Regions from separate parts of the Homo sapiens genome. Here region 1 is linked to region 2. Evidence: promoter capture Hi-C in human tissues and cell types (Jung and others, 2019). All regions are on one chromosome and are shown on one strand. The core of a region is centred on a gene start or on the middle of the fragment in contact, and the rest is flanking DNA. Distances in the headings are between cores, read along the strand shown.

Evidence for each region. The method cuts DNA at HindIII sites, captures the fragments that hold promoters and counts their contacts. A contact is called where the count stands out against the background at its distance.
Region 1: a fragment that was not itself captured here is called in contact with the fragment with the promoter of RILPL1 in region 2 in 1 of the 25 tissues and cell types used here (lymphoblastoid cells).

What each region holds. Positions count from the first base shown.
Region 1 is chr12:123,141,864-123,146,815 of GRCh38, reverse strand. All of the region lies in intron 1 of PITPNM2 (phosphatidylinositol transfer protein membrane associated 2), which reads left to right. Among named protein-coding and RNA genes, the nearest start is that of PITPNM2, 6.8 kb to the left of the region's middle. The HindIII fragment of the contact is 5,243 bases long and covers 1-4,952 here.
Region 2 is chr12:123,531,518-123,536,495 of GRCh38, reverse strand. RILPL1 (Rab interacting lysosomal protein like 1) reads left to right here and starts at 2,777. Exons shown (of 7, transcript NM_178314.5): 1 at 2,777-3,322. The coding sequence starts at 3,014. It overlaps MIR3908 (microRNA 3908), which reads right to left and starts at 87; the gene lies at 1-87. RefSeq lists silencers at 1,849-2,034, 2,054-2,743 and an enhancer at 2,959-3,776. The HindIII fragment of the contact is 25,082 bases long and covers 1-4,978 here.

The sequences.
Region 1 (4,952 bases), core at 1,339-3,838, 390 kb after region 2:
TTTTTAAAAGTGACAGCCCTGTACATGGGTCCTTGTTTCCTGTGAAATGAGTATGGAGCATTGACCTCCTCACGCCCAACCTAGCAACACCAGGACAAACCTCTGCTAAACATTTATGGTCAAAGACACGACGAGTGCTGTTAGGAGGGGCAGGCTGGCATTTGCTTACTCTTTTTTTTTTTTAAACTTTTATTGTATTTTTTAAAAATTATTATTATTTTTAGATGGAATTTCGCTCTTGTTGCCCAGGCTGCAGTGCAATGATGTGATCTTGGCTCACTGCAACCTCTGCCTCCCAGATTCAAGCGATTCTCCTGCCTCAGCCTCCTGGGTAGCTGGGATTACAGGCGCCCACCACCACACCGGGCTAATTTTTGTATTTTTAGTAGAGATGGGTTTTGCCATGTTGGCCAGGCTGGTCTCGAACTCCTGACCTCCAGTGATCCGCCCACCTTGGCCTCCCAAAGTGCTGGTATTACAGACATGAGCCACCACGCCCAGCTGTTAACTTTTAAGTTCAGGGGTACAAGCACAGGTTTGTTGTGTCGGTAGACTTGTGTCATGAGGGCTTGTTATACAGATCATTTCATCACTCAGGTACTAAACCTAGTACCCATTAGTTATTTTTCCTGATCCTCTCCCTCCTCCCACCCTCCACCCTCCAATAAGTCCCAGTGTGTGTTACCCCCCTCTATGTGTCCGTGTGTTCTCACCTTTAGCTCCCACTTATAAGTAAGAACTTGTGGTGTTTGGTTTTCTGTTCTTTCATTAGTTTGCTAAGAATAATGGCCTCCAGTTTCATCCATGTTCCTGCAAAGGACATGATCTCATTCTTTTTTATGACTGTATAGTATTCTATACTATGTGTATATATACCACATTTTCTTTTCCAGTCTACCATTGATGGGGCATTTAGGTTGATTCCATGTCTTTGCTATTGTGAATAGTGCTGCAATGAACATACGTGTGCCTGTATCTTTATGATAGAACGATATTTTTAGTAGAGACGACGTCTTGCTATGTTGCCCAGACTGGTCTGGAACTCCCAGGTTCAAGCAGTCCTCTTGAGGTGTGAGCCATTGTGGCTGGCCAAATTACTTATATTAACAACTGCCCTTGCTAGAGGACACAAAGGAGATTAACCAACAGGCAGGTTTCCGGTAACAGACAAATCAAAAACCCAAGACAACCTTGGAGAGAGAGCATGGAAAAATCAGTTTCACACTCTCCTTGTTGAAGTTCCCCATTCTTCATAAAGCTTTTCCTTGAGTGCCATTGCCTCTGAAGTCCCTTATCTCTATTGTGGAAAGGGGTCTTATTAAGACCTGGCTAGTCAGAAAGATCAGAGGTCATGATCAGGGACGTCAGCGGGAGTCATGGGTCCAGGGAAAAGGCAGAGTGTTATCAGAGCAGCAGCAGGACCCAAGAGACCTCAAGGCTGATTCCAGCCTTGGAGCAGAAGCTGACAGCTCAAACTCCCTATTGGGTGTGGACATGCCAACCTGCAGCCTTAGGAGCACATGAATGTAGGGTGGAATAGCTCTGTCTGAGGAAAGTATATCCTGACTATGCATACATGTATGCATAGTTATTTGATTCATATTGTTGGCCATAGTTAGGTTCTTCTTTTTTTATTTTTTGTGACAGGGTCTCTCTCTGTCTCCCAGGCTGGAGTGCAGTGGTGCAATCATTGCTCACTGCAGCTTCAAACTCCTGGGCCCAATGATCCTCCTGCCTCAGCCTCCTGAGTAGCTGGGACTACAGACTTGTGCACCACGCTGGCTAACATAGTTATGTTCTATAAAGTCCCTCTTCAAACACTGAGTTAGTGAACACTGAACCACTGCTCCTAGGGAAAACACAGGGTTAGGCTCCTTTGAGCCTGCGGGGACAATATTTTCTTTAACCAATCCATATGTAATCTTATTTTATATATGTTTCTGTTAAAAGAGATCGGGCATGGTGGCTCATGCCTATAATCCCAGCACTTTGGGAGGCCGAGGCGGGTGGATTACCTGAGGTCAGGAGTTCGAGACCAGACTGGCCAACATGGTGAAACCCTGTGTCTACTAAAAATACAAAAATTGGCTGGGCACAGTGGCTCATGCCTGTAATCCTAGCACTTTGGGAGGCCGAGGTGGGCAGATAATGAGGTCAAGAGATCGAGACCATCCTGGCCAACATGGTGAAACCCCATCTCTACTAAAAATACAAAAATTAGCTGGGTTTGGTGGTGTCCATCTGTAATCCCAGCTACTCAGGAGGCTAAGGCAGGAGAATTGCTTGAACCCAGGAGGTGGAGGTTGCAGTGAGCCGAGATCGTGCCCCTGCACTCTGGCCTGGCGACAGAGTGAGACTCTGTCTCAAAACAACAACAAAAAAGACACCCTATTTAATATGTATCATTGATTCATTAACATTAAACTCCTGGCCATCAACACTGTGACTCATGTCTGAATGAAGCTTCTCTAACACAAGAGATTTTCTCTGCACATCATAATCATCTTGCACCCAAGAACTAGACTGCACCTCAGCACTGTGATTGGGGGCCATTCCAAACAGCAAAATCACCAACACAAAGCACACAAGTGCCAAAAATGTGGCACTGCACAGACCACAAAAAGGACACGTGTTTCCATTAGGAGAGCTGAGATGGGAAGATAGAGGATGTCCCCTCGTTCAACCTCAGCAGGGAATGTGCCATCAGGCAACTCAAATTTTTTGCCAATTTGCACAAATTTGAAAATGAATTTGAAAGCACCATGAGCATTGATTTTGGGGTTACAGATAAATTTTAGTGACTAGGGTAATTCACAAATATGGAATCCATGGATAGTGAGGATCTGCCACCTTTGGCATCATGTCAGCCCCCACGGTGTATCCAGCCTAGCTCAGGGCACCTCACAATGCTGATGGTACTTAATGGATGAAGACTGGAGCTGCGGGATGAGGCTGTGGGCAGATTCTTGTGTTTGCTTGTCTTAGGTGCTACAGAAAGACAAGCTGTCCTCCCTCAGCCCTGCTGTAGCTTCTTCTAGAAGGGCTGCTGCCAGCAGAATGGTGCCCATCTCTCTCTGCTCAAGTCTACAGGTAGGAGGGACCCTGTACTTTCATGCAGTGGGTTCTGGCGGCAGCCCTGCAATAGACTTGGCCTTTCTTAGGAGCTGAGACCAATCCTTCTCCCAAAGGAATAATCCTCTTACGGAGGTGTTTCAGGCCAAGATGGGGGGTTCCTGGGGCCCCCATGCCTCAAATTGTGGCCTTCTTATGCCTGGGCTCTCTCAGAGGAAGCTTTCCCAAGTCTTTTGCCTGTTGTGTGCCCTCTTAAGAGTTCGTACGTACGTCATACGGATTATTACTGTTTCTCCTCTGCAGAGCTGTTTATTTCCCCTTTTGAGAGGTGGCTCCTGGGGAGGGCCTGAATTTTCTCTTTTGGCAGCTGGGGGGCTTCCCTTCCAAGTCTGACTCACAGGCTGTGCTGTGGAGCAGGGCTGTGCACTTTGCTTCTGTTGTCCTCCTGGGATTAGAATCAGGCCCTTGGGCTTCCCAGCCCCCTAGGGAGGGCTCACTGGGCACCAGTGTCCTGCATGAGGTGGTGAGCCAGTGGGAGAGCTTGTTATGGGTGCTGCTGGCTCCACCCTCTGCTGTCTCTCTAGACAGCCCCTTGGAGGGAGGGATCGAGGGAGGGGGGAGGGGGATAGGGATGGGTGTGTCAGGGTAGAAATAGGTGGCTATTCCCAGCTTTCATCAGTGGCGTGAGGTTGTCTGAGAGGCAGGGCTTCCCCACAGGTGTGGATGCGTGCTTAACACTGGCTTGGCGACGGTGCTCTGGAGAACAGGAGGACATTCTTCCTCTCACACTGAAGGGCCCATTTAAGTGCTTTCCTTGGTACTTTATAACAGTTGACTTTTCACTTGCTTTTTTTTTTTTTTCATAAGAGGGAGAAAAACTCAACATTTTTTGCAATTAGAATTTTTCCCATGTGGGTAATCACACTGGAAAAAAGCATTTAAATCCTTTGAAAACCACACATAAGTGAGGCTCACGGAGCAGGGGGAACATTCAATCAGCAGGGGTGGCCAGACGTGGAGGCACTTCAGCGGGTTATCGTGTAAGGAAACAATTATTTTACATTTATTTTGGGTTTGCTTGTTGCAGCATATTTCAATTAGTTCATCAGTGTTGTGCATCTGACAGGCCAAACGTTTATTGTGGTTGAACCATCTGGGAGGTGGGAGGCCTGCAGCCTTCCCCATGGCAGTCAGGAACTACTAGTTTAAAGGAAATTTGTTTGATGTGTTTAAGAACCCAACACTAAAACACCATTAATAACAAAATCCTCAAGAATTCTGAAAGCACTCTCACCTATTTCGCCATCAGTTGGGCATGCATCACTCGAGACTTCATTCTTCCCCTAAGCGGGACATTTTCCAATACGCTGAAGCAAAGTTTTGAAGTGGCTTACTTAATTGGTCCAGAGCACGATTTGTATTAACCCAGCAAGGAAAATAGCTCACTAATTTATATTTGAGTGTGAAATAGCTTATGCATTTGCTGCTGGGAGTAGCAAGGGATGCATTTAGCGGATTCTTGCCATTAGTATGCAGCTGAGCTCCTGTCCTGTACTGTGATAGAGAGTATTAGTTTGACTTCAGTTCCCAGCCTTGGGTGACTCACCAGAGCATTGTGAGTTCACGGTAGTGACTGCTGACCGGTGCAATTTGTCGTGCACTCTTTGAATACCAAGATTTTATAGTACCTGATTTCACCCATTTTTCATTTTACTTCAATTATTCCTCCCCACCACACCCCCACTAAAAGTTCTCTTTCCTGAGGAATGTTCTGTCTGACTTTCCAGCAGGGGGGATAAAGGAATTTAGAATCAAACAAATAGGAGAGCCAGAAGGAGCACTGGAAAAAACCGAGTCCAAGGGTTTGACCTTTCCACAAA
Region 2 (4,978 bases), core at 1,528-4,027:
AAAAAAATTAGTAAACACATTACACGTTAACATAAATTTTTTTAACTTTTTATTTTTTTAGAAACAGTCTACCTACATTGCTCAGGCTAGACTAGAACTCTTGAACTCAAGGGATCCTCCCACTGGAGTAGCTGGAACTACAGGCTCACGCCACCGTGCTAGATAACGTATGAGTTTTTTTGTTGTTTTTGAGACAGGGTCTCCCTATGTCACCCAGGTTGGAGTGCAGTGGTGTAATCACAGCTCACTGCAACCTCTGCTCCCTGGGACTCAAGTCATCCTTCCACCTCAGTCTCCCGAGTAGCTGGGACTACAGGCACTTGCCACCAGAGTCGGGTAATTTTTATTTAATTAATTAATTAATTTATTTATTTATTTATTTTGAGACAGAGTCTCGCTTTGTCACCCAGGCTGGAGTGCAGTGGCACGATCTCGATCTCAGCTCACTGCAACCTCTGCCTCCCGGGTTCAAGTGATCCTCCTGCCTCAGCCTCCTGAGTAGCTGGGATTACAGGCGCCTGCCACCACGCCTGGCTAATTTTTTTTTTTTTTTGTATTTTTAGTAGAGATGAGGTTTCACCATGTTGGCCAGGCTGATCTTGAACTCCTGACCTCAACTGATCTGCCCCCCTTGGCCTCCCAAAGTGCTGGGATTACAGGCATAAGTCACTGCAACCAGACTTTTTTTTAAATAGAGACGGGGTTTTGCCATGCTGCCCAGGCTGGTCTCGAAATCTTGGGCTCAAGTGATCCTCCAGCCCTGGCCTCCCAAAGTGCTAGGATTACAAGCATGAGCCACTGTGGCCAGGAGTATTTATTTTTATTTTTTATTTTTCTGAGACAGAGTTTCGCTCTGTCGCCCAGTTTGGAGCATAGTGGTGTGATCTCAACTCACTGCAACCTCTGCCTCCCAGGCTCAAGGGATCTTCCCACCTCAGCCTCCCAAATACCTGGGACTACAGGCTCTCACCACCACGTCTGGCTAATTTTTTTATTTTACTTTTTTTTTTTTCTTTTTTTTTTTTGAGACGGAGTTTCGCTCTTGTTGCCCAAGCTGGAGTGCAGTGGCACGATCTTGGCTCACTGCAACCTCTGCCTCCCAGGCTCAAATGATTCTCGCGCCTCAGCCTCTTGAGTAGCTGGGATTACAGGCACATGCCACCATGTCTGGCTAATTTTTGTATTTTTAGTAGAGGCGTGGTTTCACCATGTTGGCCAGGCTGGTCTCGAACTCCTGAGCTCTAGAAATTTTCCCACCTCGGCCTCCCAAAGTGCTGGGATTACAGGCGTGAGCCACCCCGCCTGGCCTTAATTTTTTTTTTTTTACTATTTATTTATTTATTTATTGTATTATATTATTATTTTGAGATGGAGTCTTGCTCTGTCACCCAGCCTGCAGTGCAGTGGCGCGATTTCGGCTTGCTGCAACCTCCGCCTCCCGGGTTTAAGCAACTCTCTGCCTCAGCCTCCTGAGTAGCTGGGATTACAGGCATGCGCCACCATGCCCGGCTAATTTTTGTATTTTTAGTAGAGACGGGGTTTCACCACCTTGGCTAGGCTGGTCTTGAACTCCTGACCTCGTCCACCTCAGTCTCCCAAAGTGCTGGGATTACAGGCGTGAGCCACCGCGCCCGGCCAACTTTTAGATTTTTAATCAATACGTGCCACGTTGGGGTGCGCTTTATGGCTACAAGGGCATTAAGATTTCTTCCCTCAAGGAGCCAAGATCTGACGGTGGAAACCTACCTGCAACCACACGGTGAAAACTCAGGATGCTAAGAGCAATCCTGATGGGGCAAGCAGGGGACTGTGAGTTTGCAAGGGGGTCCTTAACTCCTGCGTGGGGGGCGGGGAGGGTGGATGGGGTTCTGGGTTCAGGAAACGTTCTCCCGGGAGTGGGAGGGGGTCTGATGGACAAGTGGATTTGGCCAGCCCAAATGGACAGGGGGCCTTGGGACAAGAGAACTCGTGGTGCTGGAATGCCAAGCGGGCTTCGCTCTACTGTGAAGTGGCGTTCATGTCACAAGGAGCCAGTGATGGATGTGGCTCGGGGAGGCGCGCCCTGGGGCTCCGGGGATCCAGCATTCCTCGACACGTCGGCCCCTCTCCGGGCGCCTCTGCAAGTCCGCCTGGTGGCCGGGTCTGCGCGGAGTGTCTGCGGGCCGGGGGGGGTCCCCGTTCTCTTCCTGGGATGAGCCCCAGCCCGGGGACCTCCTCGTGACCCCTCCATCCCTCTCCAAGGCCGGGGCCGCTACCCGGAGCAGCGAATCGTCCCGCGAGACCAGCGCCCCCGGCCCCCTCTCCCGGGGCGGCCTGGACCCCTCCCGGCGGCCGGGTGGTGGGAGGAGTCAGCGCCGGGCGGGGGAGGGGCGGCCGGGGCACGGGTGAGGGGCGCCGCGGGTCCGGCGGCTGGAGAGGGGGGCCCGGAGTGCAGGCCGCGGAGTCGGCGCTTGGGGGGGTACCCCGGGGCGCCCCCGGGCGGCGGAAAGCGGGCGCGCCCCTGGCCAGGCCGGGATTGGGGCGGGGCGCGCGGCCTCCCTGTGGGGAAGCGATCACCCGGCCTCGCAGCCGCCGCCGCCAAAGTTTCCCGGAGGAGCCGCGGGCCGCCCTTCCTCTCCGGCCCCGCGCTCTGCCGCCCCTCAGGCCCGCACCGCCCCGAGGCGCCCGGCCCGGCTCCATTGAGCGCAACTCGGATCCCAACTTGGGAGGCGCCGCGGGCCTGCGCACGCGCGCGCCCTCCCCGCTGCCGCCGCCGCCGCCGCCGCCGCCGCCGCCCACTCGGGAGCAGCTCCGGGCCGAGCCGGGCGCCCAGACCCCGGGCCCGCACACCCCGCGCCGCCGCCCGTGCCCGCGCCCGCGCCCGCCGCCCGCTGCCCGCTGCGCCCTCGCCCCAGCGCCCGCTGAGCGCGCCCGCCCGCGGCCCAGGCTGGGCCCGGCCGGCCCGGCCCTCGACAGCGGCAAGTTTGGGAGTTGCACGAGTTTGCGGGGCGGGGGACAGGCCAGGAGGGTGGCCATGGAGGAGGAGCGGGGGTCGGCGCTGGCGGCCGAGTCGGCGCTGGAGAAGAACGTGGCCGAGCTGACCGTCATGGACGTGTACGACATCGCGTCGCTTGTGGGCCACGAGTTCGAGCGGGTCATTGACCAGCACGGCTGCGAGGCCATCGCGCGCCTCATGCCCAAGGTCGTGCGCGTCCTGGAGATCCTGGAGGTGCTGGTCAGCCGCCACCACGTCGCGCCCGAGCTGGACGAGCTGCGCCTGGAGCTGGACCGCCTGCGCCTGGAGAGGATGGACCGCATCGAGAAGGAGCGCAAGCACCAGAAGGTGGGCGGCGGCCTCGGTCTGTCCGTCCGGGCAGTGGGACCGCGGGGACCCAAGGGCTCTTCCGCATTGGGCAGCTGTGGGTGCGCACGTGTGTGTGTTCAGGGACCGGACCAGAGGAGACCCGACGTGGGGAGGGAGGGAGGCCCTGGCCTTCTTTTGCCCGACCAGGGGTGGCTGGCAGATACCACCCGAGAGATTAAGAGCTGTTCTCTGGAGTTCCAATCCCACCTTTACCGTTTAATAGCTGTGTGACTTTAGGTAAGTTACTTAACCTCTCTGTGCTTTATTTCCTCACCTGTCAAATGGTAATCATAATAGGACCCACCTTAGAAGAATTAAATGGGACCATATAAGCTAAGTGCTTAGACATATTATTCTCTTCCAGACATGAAATAAGCCTCTTGGCCTCCCGAGTTACCAAGAAGATGTGACATCAGGCCCAGGACCCTTTCTTCATCCCCCCCCCCCCCAGTCTCCCCAGAGCAAAGGGAATGTGACCTCCAGCCACTGAGCTTCGTGACCCCTAGTCTTCGGGTTCATATTTGCAACTTTCTTCCCGGGACTCCCCTAGCTTATGAACCTGTGGTAGCCCGTGTTCTCTCCTCTGATTTTATCCTTAATCCTCACAGGACTCTATAGAGACTATCTTCATTTTACAGATAAAGAAACCGAGGGTCACAGTGGGAGGAGCAATTTGTCCCAAATTAGTGGTGAGAGAGTCCCAGCCCCCGTGTCTCCTCCCCACCCTGTTTGAATTGGGGGAAAGGGATGATTTGGGGTGGCTTTAAGGCTAAGCCTCTGCCCTGTGATCAGGAGTCTCTCTGAATCAGGGCCTCCCCACTGGGCCTGGAGTTCAGACGAGGTTTCTGGAGAAAAGGAAGTGAAAGACATGTGGTTTCCTGCCCTAACCTCAGCCAGGGATGCTCTTGGCAGCCCCTTCAGACTGAGAATGGGAGGAAACACCTTTCCTTGAGGGATCAGGGTGCCTGAGCAGTCTCCAGCTTGCTGTTCAGCCTCAGGAAATACAGATGGCCTCTCTGAACCTCAGGGGCAGGCCATCCCTTATTGTGTACTTTGATGGATCTCTGTGTTTTGGAGTAAAATAGCCAAAGCTGGGTCTGAACCCTTTACCTGAGGGCAGACCCACAGGTAGGTAACAGCACCATTGCCATGTTTGACTGTGCTCGTCCTCATGGGTCCCTATGCCCTAGGGGCAGGAAGGAAACTCAGGCTCCCAAGAGTTGAGCAGCATTTCCGAGGTCACTCTGGGAGCCTGAAAATGCTTTGACCTGTAATTAATTTCAAGACTCCTAGAAGCTAGGACTTTGGAGCTAGACAGCCTGGTTTCAAACCCTACCACTTGCAGGCTGTGTGATCTTGGGCAAATCACCCAGCATCTCTGTGCTTCAGTTTCCTCAGTTCTAAAATGGGATAGTAATAGTACCCCCATTAGAATGTGATGAGGTTTAAAGAGTTAATATAAATACATATAAAGTGTTCAGGACAGAGCCTGCCCATAGCAAGGGCTTTGCAAGTCTTAAAATTCTTTTTAGGCCTGGAGAGACATTCATTGAGGTGCTCACAGGCTCATATTAGGAAACCGTCCCCACCCCAAGCACCTCTACTCCTACCCTAGAGGCCTCCATCTCTCATAGA